Linked DNA regions of Homo sapiens: region 1 is linked to region 2. Evidence: promoter capture Hi-C in human tissues and cell types (Jung and others, 2019). All regions are on one chromosome and are shown on one strand. Each heading gives the region's core, a stretch centred on a gene start or on the middle of the fragment in contact. The rest is flanking DNA. Distances are from core to core; before and after follow the strand shown.

Evidence for each region. Contacts are between HindIII fragments. The study calls those that stand out against the background at their distance.
Region 1: a contact is called between a fragment that was not itself captured here and the fragment with the promoter of CNPY2 in region 2, in 2 of the 25 tissues and cell types used here (heart right ventricle and pancreas).

Annotation. Positions count from the first base shown.
Region 1 is chr12:56,570,855-56,576,945 of GRCh38, reverse strand. RBMS2 (RNA binding motif single stranded interacting protein 2) reads right to left here. Exons shown (of 14, transcript NM_002898.4): 5 at 5,091-5,248. Among named protein-coding and RNA genes, the nearest start is that of RBMS2, 52 kb to the right of the region's middle. The HindIII fragment of the contact is 8,132 bases long and covers 1-6,091 here.
Region 2 is chr12:56,312,245-56,317,971 of GRCh38, reverse strand. CNPY2 (canopy FGF signaling regulator 2) reads left to right here and starts at 1,984. Exons shown (of 6, transcript NM_014255.7): 1 at 1,984-2,151; 2 at 2,730-2,842; 3 at 3,006-3,121. The coding sequence starts at 2,755. It overlaps PAN2 (poly(A) specific ribonuclease subunit PAN2), which reads left to right. Exons shown (of 26, transcript NM_014871.6): 26 at 329-1,036. The coding sequence ends at 363. It overlaps CNPY2-AS1 (CNPY2 antisense RNA 1), which reads right to left. Exons shown (of 2, transcript XR_002957416.2): 1 at 5,473-5,727; 2 at 3,164-3,443. RefSeq lists enhancers at 1,631-1,780, 1,861-1,910, 1,411-1,999. The HindIII fragment of the contact is 7,285 bases long and covers 1-5,727 here.

The sequences.
Region 1 (6,091 bases), core at 2,189-4,688, 260 kb before region 2:
CCTCAGCCTCCTAAGTAGCTGGAATTACAGGTGCCCACCAACACACCTAGCTAATTTTTATATTTTTAGTAGAGACGGGGTTTCACCATTTTGGCCAGGCTGGTCTCAAATTCCTGACCTCAAGTGATCCGCCCACCTCAGCCTCCCAAAGTGCTGGTATTATACAGGCATGAGCCACCATGCCTGGCCAAAATTTTTAATTTATATACATATTTTTGTTGCAGAGAAGTATGACAAGATGATCCATAAAGACTTTATAAAAATATTTTACACTAGAATACAATTCTATAGAGAAATGGAATAGAAACAAAATTCTATAGAGAAATGGAATAGAAACACAAGTTCAAGAAGAAAAAAGGAATATAAGAATGATATGAGATTTATGACTCTAGTAGTCCCCCCTTATCCTCAGGAGATACATTCCAAGTCCCCTAGTGGATGCCTGAAACCATGGATAGTACCAAACCCTAGATATACTACGCTTTTTCATCTGATGGCCACAATGGCTACTAAGTGACTAATGGGTGGGTAGCATTTGCAGTGTGGATACTTTGGACAAAGGGTGGGATGGAGCGGACAACATGAAATTTTTTATTTATTTATGTTTTTGAGACAGAATCTCACTGTGTCACTCATGTTAGAGTGCAGTGGTGTGATCTTGGCTCACTGCAACCTCTGCCTCTCAGGTTCAAGCAATTCTACTGCCTCAGCCTCCCGAGTACCTGGGACTACAGGTGCACACTACCACTCCTGGCTAGCTTTGTATTTTTAATGGAGATGGGGTTTTACCATGTTGACCAGGCTGGTCTTGACCTCCTGATCTCAAGTGATCTGCTCGCCTCGGCCTCCCAAAGTGTTGGGATTACAGACATGAGCCACCGAGCCCAGCCTGAAATTTAATCATGCTACTCAGAATGGCATACAATTTAAAAACTTTGTAACTATTTCTGGACTTTTCCATTTAATATTTTCAGTTGACTGTGGGTAACTGAAACCATAGAAAGTAAAACCATAAATAAGGGGGGACCACTCTATTTTTTTTTTTTTCTTTGAGATGGAGTTTTGCTCTTGTCGCCCAGGCTGGAGTGCAATGGCGTGATCTCAGCTCACCGTAACCTCCGCCTCCCAGGTTCAAATGATTCTCCTGCCTCAGCCTCCTGAGTAGCTGGGATTACAGGCATGCGCCACCATGCCCAGCTAATTTTGCATTTTTAGTAGAGACGGGGTTTTTCCACGTTGGTCAGGCTGGTCTCGAACTCCCGACCTCAGGTGATCTGCCTGCCTTGGCTTCCCAAAGTGTTGGGATTACAGGCGTGAGCCACCATGCCTGGCCGAGACTACTGTATTTAATTTAAAAAAAAATAGCCCTTTTTTTTTGAGGGGGGGTGTAGGGGTAAGGGGGACTAGGAAGTGGCTGGGGGTCCTATGGGCCCATAGCTCCATCCCCAGGGCAAGACCCACCCCATCTGCCTCCAGCCCTACCCATATTCCTGTATTGATTTATTTATTGAGACAGGGTCTCACTCTGTAGCCCAGGCCAGAGTGCAGTGGTGTGATCATGGTTGACTGCAGTTTTGACCTCCTGGGCTCAGGTGATCCTCCCACCTTAGCCTCCCAGGTAGCTGGAACTATAGGCACGTGCCACCATGCTCAGCTAATTTTTTTTGTTTGTTTTGTTTTTGTAGAGATGGGGTTTCACATGTTGCCCAGGCTGGTCTTGAACTCCTGAGCTCAAGTGATCTGCCCGCCTCAGCCTCCCAAAGTCGGGTTTTTTTTTGAGACGAGTCTCACTCTGTTGCCCAGGCTGAAGTGCATGTCGCCCAGGCTGAAGCGCCTTGGTGCAATCTGGGCTCACTGCAAGCTCCGCCTCCCGGGTTCACACCATTCTCCAGCATCAGCCTTCCGAGTAAGCTGGGACTACAGGCGCCCGCCACCACGCCCGGCTAATTTTTTGTATTTTTAGTAGAGATGGGGTTTCACCATGTTAGCCAGGATGATCTCGATCTCCTGACCTCATGATCCGCCCGCCTCGGCCTCCCAAAGTGCTAGGATTATAGGCGTGAGTCACGGAGTCCGGCCAAAGTCAGGTATTTTTTAAATGAATGATTTGTGTATCAGATTGCTATGATATTTAGATCTCATTTGAATACATTTTTAAACGAAGTAACAGTTTTATTTTAAATGCCAATATTTATAATTTGCTGGAAATCATACTTTGCATGAATCTGAATATATGAAGAAAACTTGTAGACATTAACATAGAAACATATAAGAGATTTCATAGTTTTTCAAAAGTCTCTAAAGCCACAGTTCCTAAACTGTGCTCTCAGGCACTGTGGGTGGCTGTGGTGAACTCAGAGGGTCACAACGAGGGTTATTTTAACTCTTTGAAGAAAAACAGCAATATCTGTTGGAGAATGTGTGCACTACTAACTCAAAATTGTACACTGCTTCAACATTAGTTCCCCCTACAATCCTTTTGATAGATAACATCATATTTTCACAAAGCTGGGTTTAAATAGTTGCTATGACAAAAGCAAATACCATAAGAAAACCAATACGTAACAGGAAATGAGTGTGTAGGTGTCCATTCTGATACCAAATTTTGAGAAGTTGTGCAATTCCAACAGGCACATATTCCATTAGTAAGTATAGTTAGAATGAAATAAAGACATGCTCTCTTTCAATGTTTGTGTATTATTTTTTCAAACAGCTACAAAGTTGTTAAAGCATAAACACTTCTTAAGCTGTATGGACCATGAAGTTACTGCTGTCAGGAAATTTTTTTAAAAAGTTGTGTGGACTGGCTGGGCGCAGTGGCTCATGCCTGTAATCCTAGCACTTTGGGAGGCTGAGGCGGCTGGATAACCTGAGGTCAGGAGTTCGAGAACAGCCTGGACAACCTGGTGAAACCACATCTTTACTAAAAATACAAAAATTAGCTGGGCATGGTGGCGGGCGCCTGTAATCCCAGTTACTCAGGAGGCTGAGGCAGGAGAATCACTTGAACCCGGGAGGCAGAGGTTGCAGTGAGCCAAGATTGTGCCATTGCACTCCAGCCTGGGCAACAGAGTGAGACTTCGTCTCAACAACAACAACAACAACAACAAAAATACAAAAATTAGCCAGGCGTGGTGGTACGCACCTGTGGTACGCGACAGAGCGAGACTCCGTCTCAAAAAAAAAAAAAAAAAGTGTGGACCATTCAGTTACTTAATAAATTGAACTGTTAGGTATTTCTTTTGGTCTAGGGTGAAAAACTATTAGATAACTAAGGGTGGCACAAACTGAGAAAGGTTAAGAACCTCTGCTCAACCTGCAAAATAAGTTCGATGGTCCCAAGCCTAGGAACTCTCCTTTAGATATACACGGGATTGCCAGCAGGTGGTGCTACTAAGCTTGAGTCAGCTGGGGAAGAGGAACTATTTCTTTTCTTCTTCTTCTTTTTTTTTTTTTTTTTTTTTTTTTTGAGATGGCGTCTCGCTTTGCTGCCCAGGCTGGAATGCAATGGCGCGATCTCGGCTTACTGCAACCTCCGCCTCCCGGGTTCAAGTGATTCTCCTGCCTCAGCCTCCCGAGTAGCTGGGACTACAGGAGCCCGCCACCATACCCAGCTAATTTTTGTATTTTTAGTAGAGACGGGGTTTCACCAGGTTGGCCAGGCTGGTCTCAAACTCCTGACCTCAGGTGATCCACCCGCCTCAGCCTCCCAAAGTGCTGGGATTACAGGCGTGAGCCACCACGCCCAGCCAAGAGAAACTATTTCTTGTTCCCAAGGTCTGAAACACTCAGAGTAAGGGGGTGTTCACGGACCAGACAAGATATAAAGCAAAAAGGGGTGCTTGGCTCACTTAGTCCAGTCATTTTGAAACTAAAAAAAAAAAAAAAAGTCAAAAGAATCTCCTTTCAAATAAAATCTTAAAATAAATAAAAGCAGAGCCATTTCTTAAGTGGGCTAAGGGAGGCTGATACCCTACGACAGTGAGGGCAGATACCAAAGCCCAAAGAAGGGCACCTGGGAAAACTGCAGGTATAGGGAATACTGTGGGAAAATTACTCATCTGAATCAATCTCCACTTCAGAGAGTGAACCAAGGCTCACAAGCTCTGATATCACAGGTGCAGAATTGTTCTGGAATACAGGTCTCCCAACAGATCTGAAAAGGAAGATCAAAACTTCTACCTCATCCTACTGCTCTCAAAGCCAGAAGGATCAGGGCTCTGCTCTAACACCCACTCCTGTAAGACCCTGGGCAAATCATTTCTACTGAAGAGTTCACTTTCCTCATCTGTAAGATAGAGAATATTTATCTCACAGGGATGTTGTAAAGATTAAATGAGACAAGATGAGAAATACTCAGTAAACTATAAGAATATACAGAATTTTTTACTCTGGTTGGGTCTGGATTAAAGGAACAAAGCCTAGAGTACTTCCCTAGGAAGTAGTAGGGAGCTTAGCCGAGTGTGGTGGCTCATGCCTGTAATCCCAACTGCTTAGGTGGCTGAGGCAGGAGGATCACTTGAGCCCAGATGTTCAAGAGCAGCCTGGGCAACACAGCAAGACCCCATCTTTATAAAAAAAATATTTAGGTGGGGCTAATGGGTTTTTGAGTATTGTAACCTATAATAAAATGAACCTTTTTTTTTTTTTTTTTTTTGAGACAGAGTCTCACTCTGTTCCCCAGGCTGCAGTGCAGTGGTGCGATCTCAGCTCACTGCAACCTCTGCCTCCCAGGTTCAAGCAATTCTCCTGCCTCAGCCTCCTGAGTAGCTGGGATTACAGGCATGCGCCACCACGTCTGGCTAATTTTTGTATTTTTAGTAGAGACGGGGTTTCACCATGTTTGCCAGGCTGGTCTCAAACTCCTGACCTCAGGTGATATGCCTGCCTTGGCCTCCTAAAGTGCTGGGATTACAGGTGTAAGCCACCGCACCTGGCCTAAAATGAACTTTTGACTTACCATCAAGTATTTTTGAATAATAGTAAAGTATTTTGACCTTGTGTGGGAAAGGCATAGATTTTGTTTTCTGGTGACCCCCAAGTGACATTTGTTATTAACCTCATCATTTCCCCACTCCTGCCATCCTCACCTTGCAAAGCCAACACCTCTGCTGGTCCCACTGGTATCTCGAAGGATACGGGTGGAGATAACCTGGCCAAAGGGCTTCAGCATCCCCTCCAGTTCCTGCTCATCCATTGACAGTGGGAGGTTTGAGATGTATAAATTTGTGGGGTCCTGTTCCTGTTGCTGTGGAAATAACAGTGAGAAAATGAGGCTCACATCTCTTATCCCTCTCCCACCCTCAGCCCTCCCCACAAATGACATTTCAGAAAAGAGACTATAGGAAGGGTCCCACATAAACAAAGATTATTCTATTTGTTAACACCCAGTCCCACTACCACGGGTTGTATATTGAGTTCCAGGAGGGAGAAGTGCAGATTTAATATTTCTAGTACTATACAAGCCCATCATACAAGTCATAAATGGTGTTTGGCTGTCTCTTTTAGAAACAGGCAGAGCAGCATTCCCGCTCTCCCCCAGCAGCCGGTCCCAGAGGCTGGATTCCCTCAGACTGCCTTGCTCCTTGGCTGGCTTGTTTTGAGCAGCCCCTCCCCACTTCTCTTCCAGCCACGCAGAATCCTCTAAGTAGGAATGCCTGTTCACTCCCTGATGGAGGAAGAGCAGGAGGAGGGGAGAAGGGAACAGGGAGAGAGCCAGATGCAGAGTTCACTGTGTCACCACGGAGCCCTGAAAGCTACAGTCTCCTAGGACCCTGAAGGCTCCTAAACCTTTGAGCTTTTGTCAGAGGGTTTTACTCCTGGAAGAAGAGGTAGGAGAGCCCTTCCAGGGGACAGAATGTGCAAAATGGCAATATCATCCAATAGTTGTATTTTTAAGAATTTAAGCAGTCACTCTGCCCTAAACAGTGGTCACCAGCAACCTTAATCCTCTTCTGCCTTTTCCTTTTGTTTTCCTTTTCTTTAACCATTACAGAAAAGGTGTCTAGCAGGCCTGCCTCACAAGCTCTATGTATAATACTCATAACAGCTTCAGAAAGGCAAAGGGACAGCCAGGCGTGGTGGCTCATGC
Region 2 (5,727 bases), core at 735-3,234:
CTCCTGGGCTCAAGCGATCCACCCACCTTGGGCTCACAAAGTGCTGGGATTACAGGCATGAGCCTGAGCGCCCCCAATTGGGTGGATTTTGATTGCACATATGGAGAATAGCACTTAACAGTTTACAAAGCACTTCATCCTCCTAACATTCAGTAAAATACATTTTATCGAAACTCTCCATTAACTATAACTTCCTCTTGCCCAAGTCTAAAATGTTCAGGGAAGGTCCATGCCCTTTTTTCTCTTGCATTTTTCCTTCATAGGAAGTATGAGAAGATGCTTTTTCTCCACTCAGCTTGAATCATGCTTTTGGTTTTGTCTCTGACAGATGCAGCTGTCTTCTCCTCAGTGCTGGCGCTCTGACTACCCTTCCCAAAGAACCACGGCCCTCTCCCTTTACTGTTCTATAGCCCCAGAACTGGGAGATGGCTTCCTAAGTTGGCTATACCTTGTCCACTTCCAGTACTGGACGTGCTCAGGGTCTAGGGTCACAGATGGTGCTATTAATTGAACTGGAACACAGCAGAATTGTTGCAAAGGTTCTAGGAGCCAGATTCATTCCTTCTTCATTCTTTGCAAAACAGTGGTACAGACATGGAGTCTAGAATTGACCCAGATGGAAAGTAATTGGTATTCTTAATATCCTGGGTGACTAATATCCAGGCAGAGAAGCTCCTGGAACCATAACTGTAAGTTCCTAGCTGGCTAGGGATTGAAGTCCTGGACAGTGACAGAGGATACCACAGTAGTTCAAGACTTAGCACAAGTCACCAACTGCTTCAGGGATACCTGGAGGGGCCAGCAAGTAGAGTGTTGGTGGCCCAAGCAAACCAGTGTTGCCAATACCATTGCCAAAAGGGCCTTTGGATCCTGGACAAAGCTTGGCTGCCGGCTTCATTTATTCCTGCTGATGGCTGAGAAGCATCTGTCTTCCATCCCACTTGCCTGTCCCAAGTTTTGTTCCATTTTTTAAAAATTTGTTGTAAACTGCATGTTTTATAAAATAAAAATAAAATATCGTTTGTTATTTATCTCATTAGAGAACTGCTAGTGTGGGTTCTCTGGCTTCAGTCTTCCTCTCCTTCCTTTGAAGGTAAAGGTCCGGAATCCAAAGTTATGGATATGAAAGGGTATAATTAGGCCGGGCGCGGTGGCTCACTTCTGTAATCCTAGCACTTTGGGAGGCAGAGGTGGGTGGAACACGAGGTCAGGAGTTAAAGACCAGCCTGACCAAGATGGTGAAACCCCGTCTCTACTAAAAATACAAAAATTAGCTGGGAGTGGTGGATGGCGACTGTAACCCTAGCTGAGGCAGAAAATTGCTTCAACCCGGGAGGCGGAGGTTGCAGTGAGCCGAGATCACGCCACTGTATGCCAGCCTGGGCGATAGGGCGAGACTCCGTCTCAAAAAAAGGGGAAAAAGGTATAATTTATGCCTTTTCTGGGCAATGCTGGGTCTTTGCTATAGCTGCCCAGTACCCTAAGTCAGACTGAAGATGTACAGTATGGTTTCCGTTAATTGTGTAAGCCGACAAACTACAGGTCCCAGGATAGCTTGAGACTTGTAGTTGCTCACAAAGATGGGTCCGGTGCTGCGGTGCTTCCTGGGAGATGTAGTTTCCTGTGTATTGAAACCTGGACTGCTCGCTGGCCGGCAGCGCACCGTTTTGAAGGTCCTAGCCCACCTGGGCTGGCTCACGCGCACGACTAGCCGCTCCCATACAGCACGCCCGGACTCTGTCGTCGCTTAAGGCCACTCCTATTCTACGGCTGACCCCTGGTGGTCACGTGGATCTGTTCGCCACGCAAGTCTGGGTCCTTCGGCGATTGACCGGGGTCCTTGCTGTTCGGGAGCCTCTCCTAAGCTGCCTGTTCGCGCGAGAGTTTGGAGGGGCGGGTTTGGGGTCGGTGTCTGATTGGGGCTCGCACCGCAGCACGCTGGAGTCCCGCTTAGGTACCAGTTAGCGTCAGGGGAGCTGGGTCAGGCGGTCGCCGGGACACCCCGTGTGTGGCAGGCGGCGAAGCGCTCTGGAGAATCCCGGACAGCCCTGCTCCCTGCAGCCAGGTGTAGTTTCGGGAGCCACTGGGGCCAAAGTGAGAGTCCAGCGGTCTTCCAGCGCTTGGGCCACGGCGGCGGCCCTGGGAGCAGAGGTGGGACGGATGCGGGCGGCGAGGCGCTGGGCGCTGAGGGTTGGGGATGGACTGAAGCGAAAGCAATGGCGGAGTCCTTAGAAAGGGGGCTGGTGTCCGTACGGGTAATCACTTACGGGCTGGAGGTGGGGACGCAGGAATCTTCGGTGCAGGATCCAAATGGGCCCTAGTTATTGCTCTCCTCGCTGGCCTCCTGGCCTGACTGAGGGCTCCCTGCCGGCAGTTCCCTAGTGCCTGTAGTCCTCACGTAATCGCCAACTTACCTCCTGTAGCTGCCACAAAGCCCCGTGAACCCTAGGCATGCAGTGCTAAAGTACCAACACTTAGGGCCTCACCTATCCACGTAGAGTCTGGGGCTGAGCCGCAAGTCCTGAGCTCGCGCTCCCACCCACCACCCTGGGGGAATCAGAGCCCTCAAGCGCTGGAACAGAGAAGCCCCTTTGTGTCCCGGCCATTTCCTGGAAAGTAGAGCCAGAGTCACAATGAGGCCTTTGAAAGCCTTGGGGTGAGGATTGGGGGGGTCAGGGAAAAATGGAGTCGGCTCCTCACACTTATGTTTTATTCCCACTCAAACCCAGGTGGAGCGACCCCATTACGCTAAAGATGAAAGGCTGGGGTTGGCTGGCCCTGCTTCTGGGGGCCCTGCTGGGAACCGCCTGGGCTCGGAGGAGCCAGGATCTCCACTGTGGAGGTAAAGGCACAACGGGAAAAAGAAGTGGAGGAAGCAGAGCCTTGGGAGGGCATGAGATCCAAGGCCTGGGAGAAGGATGAATGGAAATCCTGGGTTGATCCCATTCTCCTCACACCCTACCCCCTACCCTGTCCCCTGCTCTCATTCTCTCCTCTTCCACCAGCATGCAGGGCTCTGGTGGATGAACTAGAATGGGAAATTGCCCAGGTGGACCCCAAGAAGACCATTCAGATGGGATCTTTCCGGATCAATCCAGATGGCAGCCAGTCAGTGGTGGAGGTAACTGTTACTGTTCCCCCAAACAAAGTAGCTCACTCTGGCTTTGGATGAAATTCGACTGCTTAAAAAGGACCTTGGTTTAATAGAAATGAAGAAAACAGACTCAGAAAAAAGATTTGGCTCTGTCTCATTTGGAAGAAGCTGCAGGCTTATTCCCCATGCACTTGCTTCCTGGCTGCAAACCTTAATACTTTGTTTCTGCTGTAGAATTTGTTAGCAAACAGGGAGTCCTGATCAGCACCCTTCTCCACATCCACATGACTGGTTTTTAATGTAGCACTGTGGTATACATGCAAACATCCGTTCAAAATCTGAGTCGGAGCTAAAAATAAAAAATGAAAAAACAGAAATAAGAATAAAAGGTCTTATCCTCATAATTAGGAAATTTTAATCGAAAACAACACACATGTACACAAAGGTGTATCTAATAAGCAATATATAAGGCAGTGTTAAGATTACAGTGCTAGCCTGGGCATCATGGCAAAACACCAACTCTACAAAAAAATGCAAAAGTTAGCAGTGCATGGTGGCATGTGCCTGTAGTGACAGCTGCTTGGAAGGCTGAGGTGGGAGGATCACTTGAGCCCAGGAGGTCGAGGCTGCAGTAAGCCGTGATTGTGCCACTGCACTCCAGCCTGGGAAACACAGCAAGACCCTGTCTCAAAAAAAAACCAAAACCCAGCACTTTGGGAGGCCAAGGCAGGCGGATCACCTGAGGTTAGAAGTTCGAGACCAGCCTGGCCAACATGGTGAAACTCCGTCTCTACTAAAAATACAAAAAAGTAGCCAGGCGTGGTGGCTCATGCCTATAGTCCCAGCTACTCAGGAGGCTGAGGCAGGAGAATCACTTGAACCCAGGAGGCAGAGGTTGCAGTGAGCCAAGATCGCACCACTGCACTCCAGTCTGGTTGACAAGAACAAAACTCTGTCTTGAAAAAAAAAAAAGGCCGGGCGCGGTGGCTCACGCCCGTAATGCCAGCACTTTGGGAGGCTGAGGTGGGCAGATCACAAGGTCAGGAGATCGAAACCATCCTGGCTAACATGGTGAAACCCCGTCTCTACTAAAAATACAAAAAATTAGCCGGGCGTGGTGGTGGGTGCCTGTAGTCCCAGCTACTCAGGAGGCTGAGACGAAAAGAATGGCGTGAACTCGGGAGGCAGAGCTTGCAGTGAGCTGAGATGGTGCCACTGCACTCTAGCCTGGGCGACACAGCGAGACTCCTCTCAAAAAAAAAAAAAGAAAAGAAAAAAGATTATGGTACTTTAATAGCTGTTGTTCACAGAGCCTACACTACATCTTTAATACTGTGCTTACTGAGGATATTAGTCTCAATTTAAACAAAATTATTATTATTTTTTTGAGATGGAGTTTAGGGCTTGTTGCCCAGGCTGGAGTGCAATGACACGATCTCGGCTCACCGCAACCTCTGCCTCCCGGGTTCAAGCGATTCTCCTGCCTCAGCCTCCCGAGTAGCTGGGATTACAGGCATGCACCACCACACCTGGATAATTTTGTATTTTTAGTAGAGACAGGGTTTCTCCATGTTGGTCAGGATGGTCTCGAACTCCTGACCTCAAGTGAGCCACCCTCCTCGGCCTCTCAAAGTGCTGGGATTACAGGCGTGAGCCACCACGCCCGGCCAAAAATAAAATATTAATGAACACATGGACACAGGGAGGGGAACGTCACACATCAGGTCCTGTTGGGGTGTTGGGGGCTAGGGGAGGGATAGCATTAGGAGAAATACCTAATGTAGATGACAGGTTGATGGGTGTAGCAAACCACCATGGCACATGTATACCTATGCAACAAACCTGCACGTTCTGCACATGTATCTCAGAACTTAAACTATAATTTAAAAAAAAATTATCTTCATCTATAGAAATTAGAAGTATAAGTTGATCAGGTTAATCAAAAAATTCTGTTTATAACTTGGAGCTAATGTTAACTGTCTTGTTTCTTAGAATTGTACAATGAGGTGCCGGGCACGGTGGTTCATGCCTGTAGTCCCAGCACTTTGGGAGGCTGAGGCGGGTGGATTACCTGAAGTTGGGAGTTTGAGACCAGCCTGACCAACATGGAGAAACCCCGTCTCTACTAAAAATACAAAATTAGCTGGGCGTGGTGGCACATGCCTGTAATCCCAACTACTCGGGAAGCTGAGGCAGGAGAATCACTTGAACCCGGGAGGTGGAGCTTGCGGTGAGCCGAGATCGCGCCATTGCACTCCAGCCTGGGCAACAAGAGTGAAACTCCATCTCAAAAAAAAAAAGAAAAAAAAAAAGAATTGTACAATGAGGTAAAATAAAATCATATAGTTGAAACTACTGCCAAGTACAGTGGCTCATACCTGTAATCCCAGCACTCTTGGAGGCCAAGGCAGGCAGATCACTTGAGCACAGGAGTTCGAGACCAGCCTGGGCAACATGGCAAGACCCCGTCTCTACAAAAAAAATATAAAAAAGTAGCTGGGTGTGGTGGTGTGCATCTGTGTGAGGCTGAGATGGGAGGATCACCTAAGCCTGGGAGATCCAAGCTGTAGTGAGCCTCAGTCATCACACCACTGCACTCCAGCCTGGGCAACGGAGTGAGGCCTGTCTCAAAA